Regions from separate parts of the Homo sapiens genome. Here region 2 is linked to region 1. The links are contacts of gene promoters, found by promoter capture Hi-C in human tissues and cell types (Jung and others, 2019). All regions are on one chromosome and are shown on one strand. Each heading gives the region's core, a stretch centred on a gene start or on the middle of the fragment in contact. The rest is flanking DNA. Distances are from core to core; before and after follow the strand shown. Region 1 holds the start of HMGCR (3-hydroxy-3-methylglutaryl-CoA reductase). Region 2 overlaps POLK (DNA polymerase kappa).

What was found. The method cuts DNA at HindIII sites, captures the fragments that hold promoters and counts their contacts. A contact is called where the count stands out against the background at its distance.
Region 2: a fragment that was not itself captured here is called in contact with the fragment with the promoter of HMGCR in region 1 in 1 of the 25 tissues and cell types used here (lymphoblastoid cells).

The regions. Positions count from the first base shown.
Region 1 is chr5:75,332,033-75,338,590 of GRCh38, reverse strand. It overlaps HMGCR (3-hydroxy-3-methylglutaryl-CoA reductase), which reads right to left and starts at 1,371. Exons shown (of 20, transcript NM_000859.3): 1 at 1,291-1,371. RefSeq lists enhancers at 341-899, 900-1,460 and a silencer at 1,140-1,259. The HindIII fragment of the contact is 13,606 bases long and covers 1-6,124 here.
Region 2 is chr5:75,587,450-75,593,936 of GRCh38, reverse strand. It overlaps POLK (DNA polymerase kappa), which reads right to left. Exons shown (of 15, transcript NM_016218.6): 11 at 3,497-3,593; 12 at 1-59. Among named protein-coding and RNA genes, the nearest start is that of ANKDD1B, 21 kb to the left of the region's middle. RefSeq lists an enhancer at 4,722-5,306. The HindIII fragment of the contact is 4,623 bases long and covers 1,217-5,839 here.

The DNA.
Region 1 (6,558 bases), core at 122-2,621:
CACTCTTATCTTGAAATGGTTATCCCACATACCCGACAATTTTCATGTTAATGCTGTAACCTATGTGCAATTTTGTTTAACCTTCATGTTACTAATTCCCATTTGTTTTGGCCACCAAGTTTATCATAAGTTCTGGAAGAACACTACAACAAAGCAGGCCTGCAAAATCCAGCCTATCCCCAAAGTACTGTCCAGGTCTTTGCTAGATTATCTCTAAATTGCAAAATGCCTTTCACTGCATGGAGAGGAAAATAAATTCATAAGTAAACAAAAAGTACATTCTCTACCTTGTGGGACGCCGAAATCATGCACATTTAGTATAGCCCAGAAACAAATGCTTCCTACGACTCTGCAGGACCATGTCTAAGAAGGAATATCCTCAAATCCTGAAATATTTCAAACGACTACTTAAGAATGGAGTACATCGACCTCCTCCTACTGCAGAAATTAACTGTTCTATATTTGTATCTCCAAGGTACATTTTTCCTAAAAGAATATCAGCACCAAGGAGACTACACCCCTTACCAAAAAAAAAAAAAAAAAAAGAGGGAGAAGAATCTTTTGAGTCATTGTGCGAATCCCCACGTTGGGCTCCGCATCCTCTCAAGCCGTTCTCCTGTAAATAACCAGACACATCTACACCAATCCACGGTTCTTTCATGGTTCTAAGTTAGTCAGCAGTATTTACAGAGATCTTTCCCGTCACCTAAAAGAAAGGTGCTAACGAACAGCAGTTCCTGGGCGTGAATGCCCGGATCCCGGGATGCAGGCGCTTCTCCCGTCTGCCCTGCGAGCTGCCGGCCCGACAGCCCCATAGACCCCTAGCATTTCTCGAATCCAGGGGCCTCCGAGGTCACCCTGCCTGACACCCTTTCCGCCCCGATTTTCGTGACCGTGCAGCCAGCACTGCCTACTCTGACTGAACAGGGACGATGAACGCAGCTACGCCCCGCGGGTCCACCGATGATGACCGCAGTCACGAAGAGGCCAGACCGCCGCCCGCCTCTCAAGCCCACCCCGGGACCCCGGGTTACTCCGGCACTGATGCCGGCCGCCGCTCGGCCTGCCGGGCCTCAAGGACATTCCTTGCAGTCCCCGCGGGTCCGAGCTGCCACACCGACAAAGCGCAACCGCAGCCCCCTCCAGGTCCGCAGGAGCTGCCGGTAGCCACTTCCCAGGGCCGAGGGAAGCTCCAGAATTGCCACCAACACAGCCCAAACCCCGCTCCCACCCATCTCCGCCCCGCTCCCCGCCGCCCCTGCCCCTCTTCTCGGTCACCGCCCGCCTCACCTCCAGATCTCACTAGAGGCCACCGAACCCCGGCGCCGACGCTCAGCCTGGCTCCAGTTAACGCAGTCGCGGAGCGGAAGGAGCCCTCACCTTACGCACGCTCGGAGCTGGACGAGCCTTCGACCAATAAGAGAGGATCGTTCGATTGTCTAGCCAATCGCCTGGGGGCTGCTCGGCCTGACGGCGCTACGTCACGAACGGTCGCCTTAACAACCGCCCACAGCTCTCTGCAGGGCCAAGAACAGGCACCGCACCATCTCTCACCACGGCTCGGCCAACCAATAGCCGTTCGAGTCCCAGCACTAGGGCCTGCCTATTGGTCCTAGAGCTGTGGGGGCGCACGCATGGCAGCTGCCTAGGCGGAGGCGATAGGGGACCAGGCGGGTGGAGTGTCCCACAGCCTCAGTGCCTGACCCGTGCTCGTCCTGGCTGTGATAGTACAGTAGGAGGCAGTGATAGGAAGCAGAATCGGAGCGTGAGGGAAAACGCAGGGTCAGGTCGATGACTGAAAGCTCAGTTACTAGCGCGGGAGAGATGGAGGGAAGCGGAGGCGGCCATGAGAAAAAGAGGAATATAAAAAAAGGGAAGGTGGCGGCGACGGGCACCTCAAACCTGTAACTGGCCGGTAGCCGAAACCAGCGCTTTCCCGAGATTTACCCATTAGTGTAAATGGCTCCGGTCACCTGCGTCTCTCTCTCTTGTGTGCGACATCCATTGCATACTGGATTCTCTCTGAAATGTGCCTCTCCTGCGTCTTCTGTGCGTTCCTTCTGCTCTCCGCCTGGTGCAGGGCTTTATTATGTCTTACTTAAAACAGTGCAATAGCCTCTCCTAACTGGTCTTCCCAGTCTTACACGCATGCACTTCCCAATCTGTCCTGCAGAACTCCCACATGCAGTATGTGGCATACTACTTCCTATTATGCCATAGACCCAAATCAGCGTTTCTCATTGTCTACTGGATTAAAGAAAGAACCTGTCACCACTAATATGGCCCCACCACACATTTCTGACGTATCTCTACTTTCCTGTGCGAACCTTACAGTTCAGCCAGGAGTAACTGGCCCTTCTTCAGTCACACTCAGTACCTTTTTACCTCCCTGCTTATGTTCTCTTTGTTTACCTTGGATATGCCTACCCATTTTAACTGCTGAGATCCTAAATATCCCTTAAGGACTTTTTCATATGCCACCTCCTTTCCTAATTCCCTCAAACACATCATCACTCCCGACCTTGAAAACCCATAAAATTTCCGTAGTATTTTTTTATTTGTCTTACTATCGTATGTGGAAATTTATTAAGGACAGGAATTGTATTTCACTCAATTTTTAAAGCCCATATTTTGAAACACATTACGAAGAAAACACTAAACACTCCTTAGTTTTAATAAATGATTATAGATTCTTATAATCCTTATATAATAGGTATTATTCCCATTTTACAAAAAAGTAAAAATTAAAGTTTGTCAAGCAACTTGCTGTAGATCACATAGATAATGAGCAAAACTGGAATTTGAACCCAGATCTAATGCTTAGGCTGGTTCTACTGTTCCCCACTGCTTCAGTGTAAGACCTTCATTCATATCTCTTTACCAAATGTTGCCTTTGAAATGCTCATTATGTGAAGTACACACTGTGGTTGGCATGGGAGATATAGTGACAAACATGACAGACATAGTGCCTGCCTTTATGAACCTTGCACAGTAAAGAAAACGGGTGAACTACCCAAAGATTGCAGTGTTCTCTTAGCAGCCTTGTCAAAAAAAAAAAAAAAAAAGAGAGAAAAGTGTGTAAGTACCGAGAGCCTAGAACCTGTCATATTTTTAATGCCGCTAGAAGTCTCAAGGACCAAATATCTCAGAAGTTACAGGTTGTACACATGCCTACTAATGTAATTCAAATAAGGACTAAAGTTGTTACCAAAACAGGCTTTAGCCCAAGATTTAGAAATTTTCATTCGCAAACTGCCTAATTGGGAACTCCAATAGGAATATGAGTTCCAAAGCAAGCAATAAAGAAACACCAGTTGTCTAGTTTTATGCTCTTAAAATAAATTCTATATCCTTCCCAAAAGGTATTTCAAAAGAATCTTTATAGCACTTAACTAATAATTTGTACTTAGTGATAAATCACAAAATTTGGTATGGACACAAGGTAGAAAGGGAGGGTGGGGGAAGCGCCAAGGAAGTCCATGTGCCGCTTCCTCATATGCATTTAACCCTTCAAGGAAAGAGTTTATAAAAGTATAATTTTTTTATTTTTAGAGACAGAGCCCAGGCGGGCGTGCAGTAATGGGTCCGGAATTGGAGGGTTCTTGGTCTCACTGACTTCAAGAATGAAGCCGTGGACTCTCGCGGTGAGTGTTAACAGCTCTTAAGGTGGCGCGTCTGGAGTCTGTCCCTTGTGATGTTCAGATGTGTTCGGAGTTTCTTTCTTCTGGTGGGTTCGTGGTCTCGCTGGCTCAGGAGTGAAGCTGCAGACCTTCGCGGTGAGTGTTATAGCTCTTAAGGCAGCGCGTCCGGAGTTTTTCGTTCCTCCCAGTGGGCTCTTAGTCTTGCTGGGCTCAGGAGTGAAGCTGCAGACCTTCGTGGTGAGTGTTACAGCTCATAAAAGCAGCGTGGACCCAAAGAGTGAGCAGTAGCAAGATTTATTGCAAAGAGCAAAAAAACCAAGCTTCCACAGTGTGGAAGGGAACCCGAGCTGGTTGCCAATGCTGGCTCAGGCAGCCTGCTTTTATTCTCTTATCTGGCCCCACCCACATCCTGCTGATTGGTAGAGCCGAGTGGCCTGTTTTGTCAGGGCACTGATTGGTGCGTTTACAATCCCTGAGCTAGATACAAAGGTTCTCCACGTCCCCATCAGATTAGTTAGATACAGTTTCCACACACAGGTTCTCCAAGGCCCCACCAGAGCATCTAGATACAGAGTGTCGATTGGTGCACTCACAAACCTTGAGCTAAACACAGGGTGCTGATTGGTGTGTTTACAATCCCTGAGCTAGACATAAAGGTTCTCCAAGGCCCCACCAGAGCAGCTAGATACAGAGTGTCGATTGGTGCACTCACAAACCTTGAGCTAAACACAGGGTGCTGAATGGTGTATTTACAATCCCTGAGCTAGATATAAAGACTCTCCACGTCCCCACCAGACTCAGGAGCCCAGATGGCTTCACCCAGTGGATCCTGCACCAGGGCTGCAGGTGGAGCTGCCTGCCAGTCCCGCGCCGTGCGCTCACACTCCTCAGCCCTTGGGTGGTCGATGGGACTGGGCGCCGTGGAGCAGGGGGTGGTGCTCGTCGGAGAGGCTGGGGCTGCACAGGAACCCACGGAGTGGGTGGGAGGCTCAGGCATGGCGGGCGGCAGGTCCCGAACCCTGCCCTGCGGGAAGGCAGCTAAGGCTCCGTGAGAAATCGAGCGCAGCGCCGGTGGGCTGGCACTGCTAGGGGACCCAGTACATCCTCCGCAGCCACTGGCCTGGGTGCTAAGTCCCTCATTGCCCGGGGCCAGCAGGGCTGGCTGGCTGCTCCGAGTGTGGGGCCCGCCAAGCCCACGCCCACCCGGAACTCCAGCTGGCCCGCAAGCGCCGCACGCAGCCCCGGTTCCCGCTCACGCCTCTCCCTCCACACCTCCCTGCAAGCTGAGGGAGTGGGCTCCAGCCTTGGCCAGCCCAGAAAAGGGCTCCCACAGTGCAGTGGAGGGGGGGGCTGAAGGGCTCCTCAAATGCTGCCAAAGTGGGAGCCCAGGCAGAGGAGGTGCCAAGAGCAAGCGAGGGCTCTGAGGACTGCCAGCACGCTGTCACCTCTCAGTAACACGATCTTAGCTCACTGAAACCTCTGCCTTCTGGGTTCAGCGATTCTCTTGCCTCAGTCTCCTGGGTAGCTGGGATTACAGGGGTGCACCACCATGCCCGGCTAATTTGTGTGTGTGTGTGTGTGTGTGTGTGTGTGTGTGTGTGTGTGTGTATATGTATACATACACTTTGTTTTTCTTTTTGAGACGGAGTCTCGTTCGGTCGCCCATACTGGAGTGCAGTGGGGCGATCTTGGCTCACTGCAAGCTCCGCCTCCTGGGTTCACGCCATTCTCCTGACTCAGCTAGCTTCCCAAGTAGCTGGGACTGCAGGTGTCAGCCACCACGCCCGGCTAATTTTTTTGTATTTTTAGTAGAGACGGGGTTTCACCGTGTTAGCCAGGATGGTCTCAATCTCCTGACCTCGTGATCCGCCCGCCTCGGCCCCCCAAAGTGCTGGGATTACAGGCGTGAGCCACCGCGCCTGGCCCAATTTTTGTATTTTTAATAGAGACGGGGTTTCGCCATATTGGCCAGGCTGGTCTCGAGCTCCTGACCTCAAGCAACCCGCCCGCCTCAGCTTCCCAAAGTGCTGGGATTACAAGCGTGAACTACCGCACCCGCCTAAAAGTATAATGTTAAGACCCCCTTTAAAAGTAATGAATGACCCACATTGCCATCTTAATCCATCCTCTTTACTATTTACATATATAAATGTGTTAGGCTTCCAACCTTAACATTTCTGGTTTTTGTTGTCATGAGTCATGCTTAAAGATGGGGAATTATAACAAAAACAATAATACTAAAATATTTATATTGCTGCTTCTATATGTCAGCCACTTGTCTAAGTGCTTTTGATATATTAACTCCTTTTATTAAAAGTCCACTGAGGAGAACAATAGTAGAATCTGCATTTTACAAAGGATGAAGCTACAGAAACAGAGATGTTAGGTAATTTGCCTAATTCCACATAGCTTGGAAGTAGCAGAGCCAGAATATAAACTTTGAAATGTGGCTCCCAAGCATATGCCCTAAACCACTCCACTGTCTTATCTTTTGTATTAGCATAATGTGCACTATTTTGTATTAGTACATATCGTATGATTGTTTAATTTTCTGATGCTTCATTACAAAAGACTTTTCATAATATCAGTGAAGAGTTGTACTTGTTTCCCTTTACAGCTCCCAGCTGTGTTCAAATTTGTATTTTCCAGCCTTGGGCAGTTTTCTTTCTCTTTGTCCTGCACAGTGTTTTTTTGTTTTGTTATGTAATTTTAAATTTCAGGATAATTTTTTTAGACTAGCTTATTGCAAATGATAATTGACCACACATAGCTGTTGGCAGATATGATGACTGACTATCACTCCTGCCAAAGGTCAGTAGATATCCACTGAGGGCCTTACTCTATGATAGGCAAAGGGTTAGGCCCTCAAGGCAGAGAGTTAAATAGGAAAATATATACAAACAAACCCTTCCTAGAT
Region 2 (6,487 bases), core at 2,279-4,778, 250 kb before region 1:
GATGCACGAGTTTTTACTTCAAAATTCACATTCTTCAACTTAATGGTAACAGTTCTACCCTATAACATATACAATATGTTATTTATTTATTTATGAGACAGGGTCTCTCTCTGTTGTCCATGCTGGAGTGCGCTGGCACAGCTGTAGCTCACTGCAGCCTTCAACTTCTGGGTTCAAGCAATCCTCTTGCCTCAGCCTCCTGAGTAGCTAAGATTACAAGTGCGTGCCAGTACACCAGCTAATTTTTTATTTTTTTGTAGAATCAGAGTCTCACTATGTTACCCAGGCTAGTCTCAAATTCCTGGCCACAAGCGATCCTGGCCTCCCAAAGTGTTGGGATTATAGGCATGAGCTACTGCACCCAACCAGAATACATTATTCTGTATGACTTCCTAACTTCTAGAAAAAAGTCATTTACATGTTAGAAAAATTCAGAAAGGTTTACGGACATAAGAATATGGAATTATAACCAATTATTTATAAAACATGGTGATAAACATATCATAAAGAATAAGAGGCCGGCTGCAGTGGCTCACGCCTGTAATCCCAGCATTTTGGGCGGGCGGATCACGAGGTCAGGAGTTCAAGACCAGCCTGGCCAACATGGTGAAACCCTGTCTCTAATAAAAATACAAAAATTAGCTGAGCGTGATGGCAGGCACCTGTAATCCCAGCGGCTGGGGAGGCTGAGGCAGGAGAATAGATTGAAGCCAGGAGATGGAGGTTGCATTGAGCCGAGATCACACCATTGCACTCCAGCCTGTGTGACAGGGCAAGACTCTGTCTCAGAAAAAAAAAGAATAATTAAAATACCATTTTAGCCAAAAACGTTTACTTCCCTTTCCAAACATAAGCTAAAATCCCATTTTATTTTGTTTTTGAGATGGGGGTCCCATTCTATTGCCCAGGCTGGAGTACAGTGGCATGATCGTGGCTCACTGCAGCTTTGACCTCCCAGGCTCATGCTATCCTCCTACCTCAGCCTCCCAAGTAGCTGGGACTACACACTCGTGCCACCATGCCCAGCTAATTTTTACATTTTCTTTGTAGAGACGTGATTTTGCTATGTTGTCCAGGCTGGTCTTGAACTCCTGGGCTCAAGCAATCCTCTGGCCTCAGCTTCCCAATGTGCTGGGATTACAGGCATGAGCCACTATGCCTGACCTAAAATCCCATTTTAGCCAGTAATTTTTATTCCCCTTCCCAACTGAATTTTTTTGTTTGTTTTTTTTTTTGTTGTTTTAGACAGAGTCTCACTCTGATGCCCAGGCTGGAGTGCAGTGGCGGGATCTTGGCTCACTGCAGCCTCTGCCTCCCAGGTTCAAGTGATTCTCCAGCCTCAGCCTCCAGAGTAGCTGGGATTACAGGTGCCCGCCACCATTTTTAGTAGTGATGGGGTTTCACCATGTTGGCCAGGCTGGTCTCAAACTCCTGACCTCAGGTGATCCCCCTGCCTTGGCCTCCCAAAGAGCTGGGATTACAGGAATGAGCCACCGTGCCTGGCCCCCCAACTGAATTTTTATAAAAGACCATTACAAGAGGGAAAGGTTAAATGATCACTTTTATTTTTACTGAATCTCTTTTGGAGGTTGATTAATTACCTACAAAGGAAGGAAAAAAATCTTTCTAAAAGTGTCTCACTGAAAACGACTTATGAATAGTTCACACTTATTGTGTGCCTTCTGCATTGCCAGATGCTATGCCAAACAATTTAATGTAAGAATTCCCTTTACACTTAGTGTTTTATGAGTGCAGGGTTTCAGTGGAGACAATGAAACAGTTCTAGAGATGGGTGGTGGTGATGGTTATAAAACAATATGAACTGTACACTTAAAAATGGTTAAAATGTAAATTTTATGTTATGTATATTTTAGTATCCCCTGGAGGAGGAAGTTAATTCCTGCTCTCTCTCATCTGAGGGTAGTTAGATTTACTGACTTACTTCCAAAGGGAAAAACACTAACTTCACAGTGGAGAAGCCTAGCAAACACTAACCAAGTGATGAAGGTTAATATCAACCATGACATCATGTGGCTATTATACACCCCATGATAGGATGTTATGAGAAGGACACTTCCTCTTTGTGATACTCTTTCTAAAAATCCATAACCCTGATCTAATCATGAGAAAATCATCAGACAAACCCAAATTGGGCGACATTCTGCAGAATACCTGTATAGTACTACCCAACACTGTCAAGGTCATGAAAAAGAAGGAAAAACTAAGAAACTATCACAGACCAGGAAACTGGAGAGACATGACAGCTAAATGCAATGTAGTCCCCTGGACTGAATTCTGGAAGGCAGAGACGACATTAATGGAAAAATAAGTAAACTCCAAATAAAGTCTGGGGTTAATAATTGACAATGTATTAAATGTCAGTTTCTTATTTTTGACAAATGTACTCTGGTAATATGTTAATAATGGAGGAAACCAGGTGAGGAGTATGCTGAAATTCTATTATTTTTGTGACTTTTCTGGAAATCTAAAATGATCATAAAATTAAATGTTTATTTAAATATTTTTTAAAAAGAAAATTCTTTAAATTCAAGGTATGATAGAGAAAGATACTCATCAGATATTCCACTCTTTGTAGTAATTTTTTTAAAACAAATTTTTTACTGATTAGCATAATAGTTTTACTGATGCATTATATGAACATAGTAAATTATCACATGTACCTCATAGTTTTGATCTTTGTAAAGATCAAATAAGTGTACTTCGGATATCTATCACCTTAAATATTTGTATTTTCTTTATGCGAGAAACATTCAAATTATTCTCTTCTAGCTATTCTGGTATGTAACACAGATTACTGTACACTATAGTCACCTTACTGATCTATTGAACACTAGGTCTTATTTCTTCTATCAAACCAGATATTTGTACCTGTGTAGCAATTTTAAAATACCTTTTTATTACGCTTTGTACTGACTCTACCTCTGGTTTGAGAGTGTTGGGAATACACTAAATATAAATTGTTGTGAGTGAAGATTATAAAATAGCAAGTTCAAAGCCTTATAGGTTTTGTTGTCCTGTGTTAAGCAACCTGGACTACAACCTTGAAACAAAATGCCTATTTTAGAAGGTCATTGTCTAAGTAAGAAAAACATTAAAGGATGATTGGAAAGACATTTGTAATATGTGAATACAATTCTCTGGAAATCCTTTCTTTTGCCTTATTCTCTAATGCCAGTGTAACTTTGGTTTTAACTTATTCAAATGTACTCCTGAGGTACAGAAGTAAAGTCCTCTGAATTATACTGAACCACTCTATTCTCATAAGGTGCTTCTTCATAGAATCACCTCATCACAGACTCCAGATATGGGTCAGAATTGGATTTGTATCTGACTGTTGGGGATAGGAATACACTATTCTGACGTTTATTAATTTGTATTCATCTTTAAGAAATGTGTAATCTAACTCTAGCTTTTAAGGTAGCATTTTACTATTAAAAAACTTAAAAACTAAGGACACCATATCAAAATAAAGCACCTTAAGTCTTTCTTTCTGTAGATCCTGAGCAAGCTCACTGCAAAGTTCTTGACATAGGCTGTATTGCTCTTCCGCTTTATTTATCTCACTGAATGTCCTAGAAAGACAAGAATAATTTTGGCGCACAAAGTAAACTATAATCCAGGATAATTTGGAAATGGTATGCATGTTTATATGGCTAGCATTAAGTTATATTTTTCTGTATTACAAAATAAAGTTTTCAGATGAACTAAAATTTAATTAAGTAAAAACATCTAAGATCTATATAAATAATGGAAACCCACCTAAACAGGAAAGCTTGATTAGCAAAGAAACAATTTTATGCTCTTGCTCTATTATATCACAAAAAAGATAATTAAAATTACCAACAGATAATGGTAATGCCTCCAGAACTTAAAACAGATTAGGGTATATGTATATATAGACTTTATTACAGAAGATTATCTTAAGAAAGTCCAAATGAGAACATCATTCCAATTACTGCACATGGATTTTATGGATGAGAAACATCTTTAAGTAGATTTAAGGGGTTGGCTCATGGAACCTACGCAGAGTTGTTTAATAGACAGCTGAAAATAGAAGGCTGATAAGATTAAATGTAGGTATTTTGAATTCATCTGCAAAAAAGTGTTGAAAGAAGTTGACAAGTGATATTAACTTAAAAGAGGATAATACAAAGAGACCAGAATGATGAGTATGGACCCTGAGCAAGTGACTCTTCAGTAAAGAGTCCCCTTTCTACTTCTAACCTTATCCTCAGCTACTCAGTTCTCTTCCCTAGTGGCAACCAATGTGTCAGCTTCTTATTCTTATGAATTCCTTAGAAATATTCCACGTATACGGGCGCCTGTAGTCCCAGCTACTCGGGAAGCTGAGGCAGGAGAATGGCGAGAACCCAGGAGGCGGAGCTTGCAGTGAACCGAGATCGCACCACTGCACTCCAGCCTGGGCGACAGAGCGAGACTCCCTCTCAAAAACAAACAAAAAAAAGAAATATTCCACGTGTGTGTGTGTGTGTGTGTGTGTGTGTGTGTGTGTGTGTGTGTGTGTGTATGTGTGTATATATATAAAATAAGCAAACAAGAAGACATTTTCCTCTCATTTTTTATATAAACAGTAGAATTTTAGATACATTGTTTAGTACCCTGCTTTTCTCAATTTATCATGGTGAGAGTTCCCCATGAGTAAATGATTTCCTCATTTTTATACAGCAGCATAATATTCTAATTTAATGATGTAAGGTAATTTAACCAATTCTCTATTCATGGATATTACAGTTTTTTTCTATCATAAAAAATGCAGTGAGTAACCCTGTATATATGTAAAATGACATGTGACTAAATCTGTGGAATTAATTCTTAGTAAAAGAATTATGGCATCAAAGTACATGTGTATCTGTGATTTTGATACATATTATGAAATTTCTTACCCCCTGTGGTAGGCTAGATAATGGTCCCTAAAGATGTCCACATCCTAATCCCTGGAATCTGTGAACCTAGTATCTTACATGACAAAAGGGATTTAGCAGAGGTGATTAAATTCTGACGGACAGAGATTACTCTGGAATGTCCAGCTGTGCCCAACGTAATCCCAAGGGTCCTTATAAGAAGGAGGCAGGAGGGTTAGAGTCAGAGAAAGAAGTTGCTGAGGCTATGAGCCAAAGATTCTGTGGCCTCTAGAAGCTTTTCATAAAGAAATGGACTCTCTCCCAGAGCTTCTAGAAGAAATGGAACTCTACCAACACATTAACTTTAGAACCGCTGACTTTCAGAATGATAGAGAATAAATTTGTTTTGTTTTGAGCCACTAAATTTGTAGAAATTTGTTTTAATAGCAATAAAAAAACCTAATGTACTCCCTCTAAAGTTTACACATTTTTCACTCCTACAGTCTTGCCAATAGAGTATGTTAGAATCTTTGCCAACCTGACTAGTGAAAGAAAGGTATCTGAGAGAACTTTCAATCTGTATTTCTTTAATTATAAATGAAAATGGTAGTAATTTCACTTGTTTTAAGAGCCATTTGTATTTCCTTTTCTGTTAATTATTTAGAACTTTGTTCATTTCTTCTGTTGGCTTACTGTTCCTTTTTATTGATTATGAGTTCTTTCTATATTAGAGAAGTTAGTTAGTTTGTGATATAAATTGCAACCTCCTTTCCCCCAACTTCATACCAAATTTGATGTTATATTGCCCATTTTAGAAAGCCAAGGGGAGAAAGTTTCCAGAAAAAAAAAGTGGAGAACACATTCCTGTACATAAAATAGTTTTCCCAATAGCAGAGAAAATGGCAGAGAAATTTATCAAATATGGCAATACTATTTTGCTTTTGGATTTTTTTTTTCTCTCTCTCTTTGATTGCTTTCATATGGACCAAAACCTAAAATAGCAATTTTTATCAAAGCCATTTATTATGTTGTATTGTAAAAGTTAATCAGCTTTTCTGACCACAAATAATATATGTGAAATATGAACACAATCTTGTACTAGGTCAGTGTTTTGTTTTGTCTTGTTTTGATTTTGAGACAGAGTCTCACTCTGTCACCTAGGCTGGAGTGGAGTGAGTGGTGCCATCTCAGCTTACTGCAAACTCCACCTCCTGGGTTCAATTCTTGTGCCTCAGCCACCCAAGTAGCTGGGATTAAAGTTTAAGCGACCACACCGGGCTGATTTTTGTATTTTTAGTAGAGTCAGGGTTTTGCCATGTTGGCCAGGCTGGTCTCGAACTCCTGGCCTCAAGTGATCTGCCCACCTCAGCCTCCCAAAATGCTGGGATTACAGGGGTGAGCCACCTTGCCGGGCCCTAGGTCAGTGTTTCTTAAATGTCTCAGTGGAAACTTGCTGCTTTGAGGAGATAATTGAGGGATGTTTCAAACAATGACTTATTTCCCCAAACGGTAAGTTTCCATCATTATTTCATTTGGTTTTCAAACAGGATTGTAAACCACTAAACTAGATCATCTTTAAGCTCTCTTTTATCAGTAATATTTTA